Regions from separate parts of the Homo sapiens genome. Here region 2 is linked to region 1. Evidence: promoter capture Hi-C in 16 types of primary human blood cells and fetal thymus (Javierre and others, 2016). All regions are on one chromosome and are shown on one strand. Each heading gives the region's core, a stretch centred on a gene start or on the middle of the fragment in contact. The rest is flanking DNA. Distances are from core to core; before and after follow the strand shown.

Region 1 (4,303 bases), core at 603-3,102:
CCCAAACACCAACCTACCACTAAGCTAATTCACACCTTCTCATCTGGACCACTTTGGTAGTCAGCAATTTGACGAAGTGGCAACGGAGGCAAAGGATGTGGGTTTGGGTCCCCTCTCCTTCCTTTATTAGTTTCATGACCTTGGGCAGGTCAGTAAGTCTTTTCGTCTCATTTTCTACACTTACCAGATAAGTAGGGTAACACCCAACTCAAAATCCTGTGTGTGGAAGGGGATAACGCATGACACACATGGCCCAAGCTCTCAGTTAGCTAAGTCTGACTCTATCCACTCCACCCTAAGCCTCCAACACTGTGAAATGATCCAACATGCAAATCTACTCGTGTCACTCCCTGCCCCAAACTCCTGAACAAGCCATACCATTCAGCAGCTCTCCAAGGATCTTCAGAACCTGCTCCCTACTGACCTCCTGCCACTGCTTCCACCAGGCAGCTAACATCACAGGGCTTCTTTCAGTTCCAGAAACACATCGCCCGCCTTGGCATTTTAGACCATGGCTCCGAAGCCGCCATCACACCACCACCCATGTTTATCAACGTAAGCCCCACTTCATCCTTTATTCCCTTATAATACCACTTCAAAATGCACCAGACATCCCCAATCTTGATTGTTGTTAAAAATGCAAGTTCCTGGGCCACGAGCAGTGGCTCACGCCTGTAATCCCAGTACTTTGGGAGGCAGAGGTGGGTGGATCACCTGAGGTCAAGAGTTTGAGACCAGCCTGGCCAACAAGGTGAAACCCCCTCTCTACTCAAAATTTTAAAAATTAGCTGGGCATGGTGGTGGGTGCCTGTAATCCCAGCTATTCGGGAGGCTGAGGCAGGAGAATCGCTTGAATCCGAGAGGCAGACGTTGCAGTGAGCCGCGATGGCGCCATTACACTCCAGCCTGGGCAACAAGAGCGAAACTCCACCACAAAAAAAAAAAAAAAAAAAAAAAAAAAAAAAAATGCAAGTTCCCAGGCTCCCGTCCAGACCAACTGTTGGGCCGTCTCCAGGGGAGGGACGTGAGAAGCTACATTTCAATCATGCGCCTCAGTTGGGTCTTTAGAGTAAGGTGGGGACACACTGTCCAGACTAGAGCTACCTGCCCTGGCTCTGCAGTCCCTGTCCTCAGGGTGGAACAGTGATCCCTCCTGGGCTTCCACCCCAAACCCTGGAAGGTCAAGGCCCGAAAATCCTTTCCATCAGTTTGCCCAAAAACAGATGAAATCAGCCCAAGGTGCTGAAGAGTACAGTTTATAAAACAGTAAAGCACATGTAGGAATGCCCTAAGTTCTACTTTTTCCTCATGATGCTGCTGTGAAGTTTTTCCACTTTATTTTTGTTTAAAAGTCTGTGAGCTCCGGACCCAACCCTCCACCTTAGCGTTGGTGTCCCGCCCGCCGCGGGGGTCGCAGGGCCGGCGCCGGGCCTGGCCGGAGCGAGGGGGTACTGGGGGCCTCGGGCCGCCCCGCGCCAGAGCCTCCGGCGCCTCACCCCCACCCCAAGGTCCTGCAGGCGAGGAGGCGGGGACCCCGGCGGCCGCGCCGCGGGACCCCGGGCGGGCGGGGGCGGGGCGGGCTGTGCTTGAACCACACGGTGACCGCGCGGGCCGTGCGCGCGCACACCCCCCGCACGCCCGCAGCCTCGCGCCGCGCGGCCTCTCCGGGAGTGGGGCCGGCCCGCCGGCGGCGGAGACGAACGATTCTCTCTAGGGTGCGCCCAGTGCCCCGCCTCACCTGGCCGCCGTCAGCCTCGTCGCCCCACTCGGCCGCGCTCCCGTAGTAGTCCTCGTCCATGATGGCGCCCGGCACGGCCCCCGCCATGCCCTCCCGCGAGCGAGCGCGGCGCATGCGCGAGGCGGGGACGGGCGGGCGGGCGCACGCGCGGCCGCGCGCCTCGGCCCGGGCGGGAGGCGGGGCCTGGAAGAAGGGGCGGGGCCTGGAGGAAGGGCAGGGCCGCGGGCTCGGCACTGGGAACAAAGGGGACCGGCGGAAGGAACGCCCCCAGTCGATCCCGGAGCGATGCCCGGGTGGACCAGGGGCTTAGCTCCGGAGAGAGGTTTCCCACTGGATTCGTGCACAGCCCCTCCCCTGCGGCGCCGGCTCTGCGAGCCCCAGTTTCCTCATCTGGCAGCTGGAAACAAATCCTTCCGGAAGTGTCCAGGACCCACGAAAGTGTTTTAATTTCTTTTAGTTTTGGTAAAAAGTACTAAACGCGACCGGGCGTGGGGGCTCACGCCTGTAATCCCAGCACTTTGGGAGACCGAGGCTGACGGATCACTTGAGGTCAGGAGTTCGAGGCCAGTCTGGCCAACATGGTGAAACCCCGTCTCTGCTCAAAATACAAAAATTAGCCGGGCGTGGTGGCATGCGCCTGTAATCCCAGGTACTCGGGTGACTGAGGCAGGAGAATCGCTTGAACCCGGGAGGCGGAGGTTGCAGTGAGCCAAGATCGCACCATTGCACTCCAGCCTGAGCGACAGAGCGAGACCCTATCTCAAATAAATAAATACATACATAAAAAGGGCAGGGCACGGTGGCTCACGCCTGTAATCCCAACACTTTGGGAGGCCGAGGCGGGCGGATCACCTGAGGTCAGGAGTTCGAGACCAGCCTGGTCAACATGGTAAAACCCCTTCTCTACTAATAACACAAAAATTAGCTGGGCATGGTGGCGGGCGCCTGTAGTCTCAGCTACTCAAGAGGCTGAGTCACGAGAACCGCTTGAACCCAGGAGGTGGAGGTTGCAGTGAGCCAAGATCACACCACCGCACTCCAGCCTAGGCAACAGAGTGAAACTGTGTCAAAAAAAAAAAAAAAAAGAAAAAGAAAAAGAAAGAAAGAAGAAAGAAAGAAAAGAAAAGAAAAAAGAAAAGAGAAGAAAAAGTACTGAATGCAGTGGAAAGTAGCATTTTTAATTTTTTATAAAGTGGAAGATAGGCCCACAAAGCAAAAGTGCCCAGAGCTGACAAAAATCTCTGGAGAAAGGACCTCTCTGGTCGTTGCCAAAGGGAGCAGCTGACGCTGTTGTAAAGCCCGCAGCTCGATTCCCAGCGTGAAGTAGGGGGTGAGAATATGACAGCCTCCTGATGATCACGGAAAGGTTTTTGTTTGGTTGTTGTGTTTTTGTTTTGTTTTAATTTTAGATTCGGTGCGTGTGCAGGTTTGTTACATTGGTATATTGCGTGATGCTTCTAATCCTTTCGGCAACTTTTTCAGCCTTTACCCCCCTCCACACCTTCTGCCTTTTGGAATACCCCATGTCTGTTGTTCCCATCTTTGTGTCCAAATCACAGAAAATTTTAAACAGGGAGATTAACGCCATAAAATCTGGATGCTTTGAAAGGTAACGCCCGTGGCTGAGCGCCGCGGCTCACACCTGTAATCCCAGCACTTTGGGAGGCCAAGGTGGGAGGATTGCTTGAGGCAAGAGTTTGAGACCAACCTGGGCAACATAGCGAGACACCGCCCCCCCCCTTCCCCCGCCCCCAGCCAGGTATGGTGATGCACGCCTGTAGTCCTAGCTGCTCGGGAGGCTGAGGCAGGAGGATTGCTTCAGCCCAGGAGTTTGAGGTTACAGTTTGCTATGGTCGTGCCATTGCATTTCAGCCTGTGTGACAAAGTGAGACCCTGTCTATAAAGAAAAAAAAGAAAGGTAATGCCCATGTCAGTAAGGAAAGAGTATTAGAGAAAAGAGCTCCAGAAGATTGATAATAGTGACTACTTTTGGAGAACTTATCAGGGAATATGTCTTCATTTATTCAACAAATGTTTATTGAGTGTTCCCTAAGTGCCCAGCACTGCGCTGCTCCCTGGAGCTCGGTGAACAAGTTGGACCTGATCCTTGTCCGGGTAGAGCCTACATTCTACTGAAGGAGCTGAATGGGGGGAGGGGGTGGGGGGAACAAATAAGATAAAGACAGAAGGTGATCAGTGCTAGTATTCTGTGATAATAGAATCTTCTTGGGGAGATCAGAGATGGCTGCTGAGCAGCTTACATTTGAACTGAGTCATGTCATGAAAGGGGCAAGCTAGCTAAGACCCAGGCAAGAGCATTTCCAGAGAGCAGAACTGCCAGGGCAAAGGCCAGGCATGCGTACTTGGAACAGAAAGGCCACTGAGAGCGGCACCTGGCAGGCCAAGGAGAAATCTAGATGAGGTGGGCAAGGCAGGGAGGGCCAGATCTTGGGAGGGAGTTAGGTCTGTATTAACTGAGGGCCATCTCTAAGGATTGAATGTAATGAGGTATGCCAAGCACTGAGCAGAGAGCTTGCACATGGTAGGTGCTCAGCAAGTATGCAT
Region 2 (4,303 bases), core at 1,084-3,583, 270 kb before region 1:
AACACTTATACTCTCAGCAATTTTTAAGAATACAAAACATTGTCATTAACTATAGTTACCATGTTGTACAATATAACTCTTGAACTTACCTGTTATTTCTGATTTTTTTTCCCTTCTGTTTTGTCTTCTCTCTCTTTCTAGAATTGCCCTTATTGGGTTATTGGATCTCCTAGTATAATCTTCTATTTTTCTTATCTTTTCGCTGTGATGTTCTGTTTCTTGGTCTTTTTGCTTCACTTTTGGGGGAATTTCCTCAACTTTATATTCCAATGAGTTTCTATTTCTGCTATTATGCTTTTAATTTCTAAGAGTTCTTTCCCATGTTCTTTTTTTATAGCATCCTGTTCTTACTTCATAGCTCTAACATCCTCTCTTTTACCCCCGGCAATGTTAATAATGGGTTGTTGTTGTTGTCGTTGTTGAAGTTTGCCTCCCCCTACATAGTCCCTCTTCCAAGTTCCTTTGTTTCCATTGGTTTGTTTTTATTTCTCTCTTTAGGTTGGTGGCTTTCCTGAGAAATACAGCAATCTTCGCTGCTTATGTTTAGGAAATGGGCACAAAAAAGCTGACTTGGTGTTCTTTACAAGTGCAATCTGTCAACCATGGGCCCTACTGTTAGGTTATGTGGTTGCCCTGTTTCAGTGGGAACCCTGAAGTAGTTATCTGCAGGTCTCCACGTGTACTGGTCAGCTTCTACAAGAAGAGTCCTCGGGTCTCCTGACTGGAAAATAGAAGCCAGGCTGCCGGCATTCTGGAGTCAAAATTAGAGAAGAGATTCTGGGGGCTCATATGCAGTATTCACATTTGCTCAAACCCCATTTTCAATCTAGTCCCCTCACTCCCCTGCTGAACTAATTATGCCAAGTGTCCCCCAGCATTTTGTATGCTGTCCAGAGACTAAGCCCCTAGTCTTCTCCAAGGGTGAGGGAAGTTACCAAGCTCTGAGAAGTAGAAACGGAGTGGGAATGAAGTCTGATTGCTTCTTAGTCTTTCAATCAATCTTGTTTTCAGCCACACCTGGTACCATGAATGTCTGAGTTGTGGGGAGTCTTCTCACTGTTAAATCAGGATTCCATTCCTTGGGGTCAGCTACATCAGTTCCCATTCAGACTCTGCACTCCAGTTTTCAAACTGGTGGCATCATTTCTTCTCCAAGTCGTTTCTCCTTGTGAGCTTATATATTAAAAACACCTTTAATTACTAACCTCTTGTTGGTTGTTAGAGAAAAGCTGAGGTAAATAAATGTGTTCCATCCTCCATCTTAAACCAAAAGAACAGTTCCACTTCTTATATCTCAAGGGGTAAGTTACTAGATTACCAAGTGTGCTAATCCTGAGCAAATCAACTTTGAAAATCCGTAGAGAAGTGCACAGTTTGGGAAAGATAGCAATGCTTTTTTCTTCCACACAATCTTTCTTGACCCTCCCGTGTACTCAGGTAATCTAATGGCACAGAACCAGGCTTTTGGTACTCCATTCACCTGTTCAACAACCACATCCTGGGCCCCTTCAATGACCCAGGCACCATGCTCCACCTTGAAGAGTCTGAGAAGAACAAAACAAAGGTGACGCTGGCCCTCAAGAGCTTCTACTGTAATGGGGAAAGAGAAGCAAAGACAAGGAAGCAGACGCCTATTGTGATGGGGTCGCAAAGGAAATAAATCGAGGACGGGGATATTACCGAGAGTGAAAATGAGAGTATTACAGGCAGTAACAATTAACAGGAGGCTATTCCAGACACTAATGAGAAATGGAGGGGAGCATACTACAGACTCATGATAAGCAGGGGGTAGTAAAGAGAGTAATGAGGGGGCTTAATCCAAAGAGTAGCCAGGGAGGACTGTTTTATATAGTCAAGGAAGACTTCTCAGAAAGGCGACATCAGAAATGAGACCTTCAGAGTGAGAAAGAACAAGTCCACAAAGGATATTCTAGACAAAAGAAGGAACAATACAGAGACCTTAAAGGGGAAAGCAGCTTGCGGGAGCAAGAGACCCATGGGGGGCCAATGTGGAAGGACAGTCGTGAATGCAGGGGCAGGGGCAAGATGATGGTGGGGAAGTCAACAAGGACTCAGATCTTGTGGGGTACAAGTGACTGTGGTAAGAAGTTTAAATTTTGAAGCCAAACTCGGGAGAGAGGTGAGGAGAGGTGGGAAAAACAGTTACAAGCTTACTAGGATAATCCAGGGGCCAGATGAGATGGCTTGACTAGGGCACCAGAAATAGAAAGGGAAAAAAGGGGTGGATTCAAGATATGTTTTCATTCTCACCCATGAAAAATTATCAAAAATTAATGGTGATGATATGCATTTCCTTAGCCTCATCGTTCACCAAGCACAAGTGCTCACTCTAAGTGAATTAAGCTCTGTCCCCACAGTGACAAAACAACCATGCAATTCATTCAATTCAATGAAGAAGTAAAACCAATTAGTGTAGAGAAAATAATCAGATTGGCCAAATGTCTTCCCAACAGGTTGTTTTGGTTTTTAAGCTTAAGTAGAAAGGTCATGTGCACATTTGACCAATAACTTCTGACTCATCTATGAAAGTAAAGGAAGAAAATCCACTGATCTAATTTGTTTTTGACCCTGCAGTCTACAGAGAAAAGTGAATTATCTTTAATAATTGTGAAAAATGCTCAAATAATGTCACTGAAGTGTGTTAAACTGATTTGGATTATTGAGGAAGGACACTAACTTGCTTTTAAATGAATGGCCCTTTTCAAAAAGGAAGTAGTTCCCTGGCCAAATTTTAAATCACAGAATGTGATTCCATTGAGGCTTCAGCATCACACTGTATGAATCACTTCCTACATCCTCAGAAATTACAAACTCCACTGTCTTAATGCCATCTTCAGAAATTCGATCGCTCTTACACAATTATGGGACTCTTATTAGAGAGACCATCTCTCATCACAGCTCTCTGTGCCGTGCTGTTCTTTCCCTGATTAAAGGCTGTGTTTTTAATAACTTCCCTCAGAAATAATTGCCAGACTGCATTTAGAGGAAGAGGCCACTTAAAGTGTTACAGCAATTTTAAATGTGGCCATCTTGAAAAGGCTACAGGAAACTGTAAAATACTTAGAAAGAAAATGAAATAAATAAACAACATGATGAAACTTACAACATAACTGTAGACATCTTTAATGCCAAATCTTCTTCCAGCTGCCTAATGTCTAGGCCTTATTAAAATGCTATAAACGCACTGCTCAAATATCATTAACTAAAAATGTAAGTAATTTGATATATTTCTTTTGGTTTGTCCCAATACACCAAAACTCCATGAATGTGGATTCCAAAGACTGAATTATTATTTAAAAAAAGGGTTAAAAATGAGTCTATAAAATCAACCTTCTAAGCAAGCTGCAAATATAAACAAGAATATAGGAGTAATTTCCTAGACTATTAATTAATCTGTGATTAAATTGTTTAGAAGCATCCCGGGAATTAACAGATCCACAATGTGCTAGCAATTACTTATAGAAAGCTGGGCAGATCTCTAAAAGTAATAACTTTGTGGACAGTTATTTATTCAAATATTTTTAAGCCTGTTTTCGAGCCTATGTTATTGAGCCTAAATATTTACTGAGCACCAAGCACAACCAACAACCGTGCCAAGAACTGTGCTAAACACAGGGCATTTGTTCTGTGGAAAACGAGGCAGACACACCCACATGATAATTATAGTTCAACGGGGGAGAAATTCAGTAAGCAAATAATTATATAAAAAATTCACCAAGCAAATATAGTAAATAGCATGAAAGAAAAAGCACGAAGGTGCTGGGTGGCCATGAAATAGGACCCCAACCCAACCTGTATCTATGGAAAAGAGCAAAACTATGCACACAGTAAATCATCTGACATCACCCCTGTCCTGGATGGCTTTCTAAGTCTGAATCATCTATACATGTAATTATTCAACCAATTTTCTTTAAGTCTCTGTTGCATACCTGACGTTATGCTAAAGTTTCTTTGACAGTAAATTCATTTGTTTCTGCAATCCTATTACATTTTTTGTTTATGAAGCCTCTTTACGAAAAAAATGGCTAAAAATGATGGAAGAAAGAGGTTTTATTCCTCTCAGGCAGAGAGAATGGGAGACGTTGGATGTCAATGCCAATCAAAAAATAATCAGAAGTCAGTGGGCGGTGAGCAGTGAGAAGCAGCTCCGACTTCAGCTGCACAGGCAGGGAGGGTTGGGGGAGAGGACCAGAAAGATGGATTTATCAAGTACAGCCTCGGGTATTTCTGCACTATCCTAATGCAATCTTTTGAAAGTTTGCCTCTAAGTAATCATAAACTA

The links. The method cuts DNA at HindIII sites, captures the fragments that hold promoters and counts their contacts. A CHiCAGO score of 5 or more calls a contact.
Region 2: a fragment that was not itself captured here is called in contact with the fragment with the promoter of NELFCD in region 1 in 1 of 17 cell types (total CD8 T cells); the score reaches 5.3 in total CD8 T cells.

The regions. Positions count from the first base shown.
Region 1 is chr20:58,978,805-58,983,107 of GRCh38, reverse strand. It overlaps NELFCD (negative elongation factor complex member C/D), which reads right to left and starts at 1,852. Exons shown (of 15, transcript NM_198976.4): 1 at 1,739-1,852. The coding sequence starts at 1,798. RefSeq lists an enhancer at 1,094-1,594 and a silencer at 1,517-1,996. The HindIII fragment of the contact is 8,660 bases long and covers 1-4,303 here.
Region 2 is chr20:59,246,756-59,251,058 of GRCh38, reverse strand. The region is part of intron 4 of ZNF831 (zinc finger protein 831); the gene reads right to left. Among named protein-coding and RNA genes, the nearest start is that of EDN3, 52 kb to the left of the region's middle. The HindIII fragment of the contact is 322 bases long and covers 2,173-2,494 here.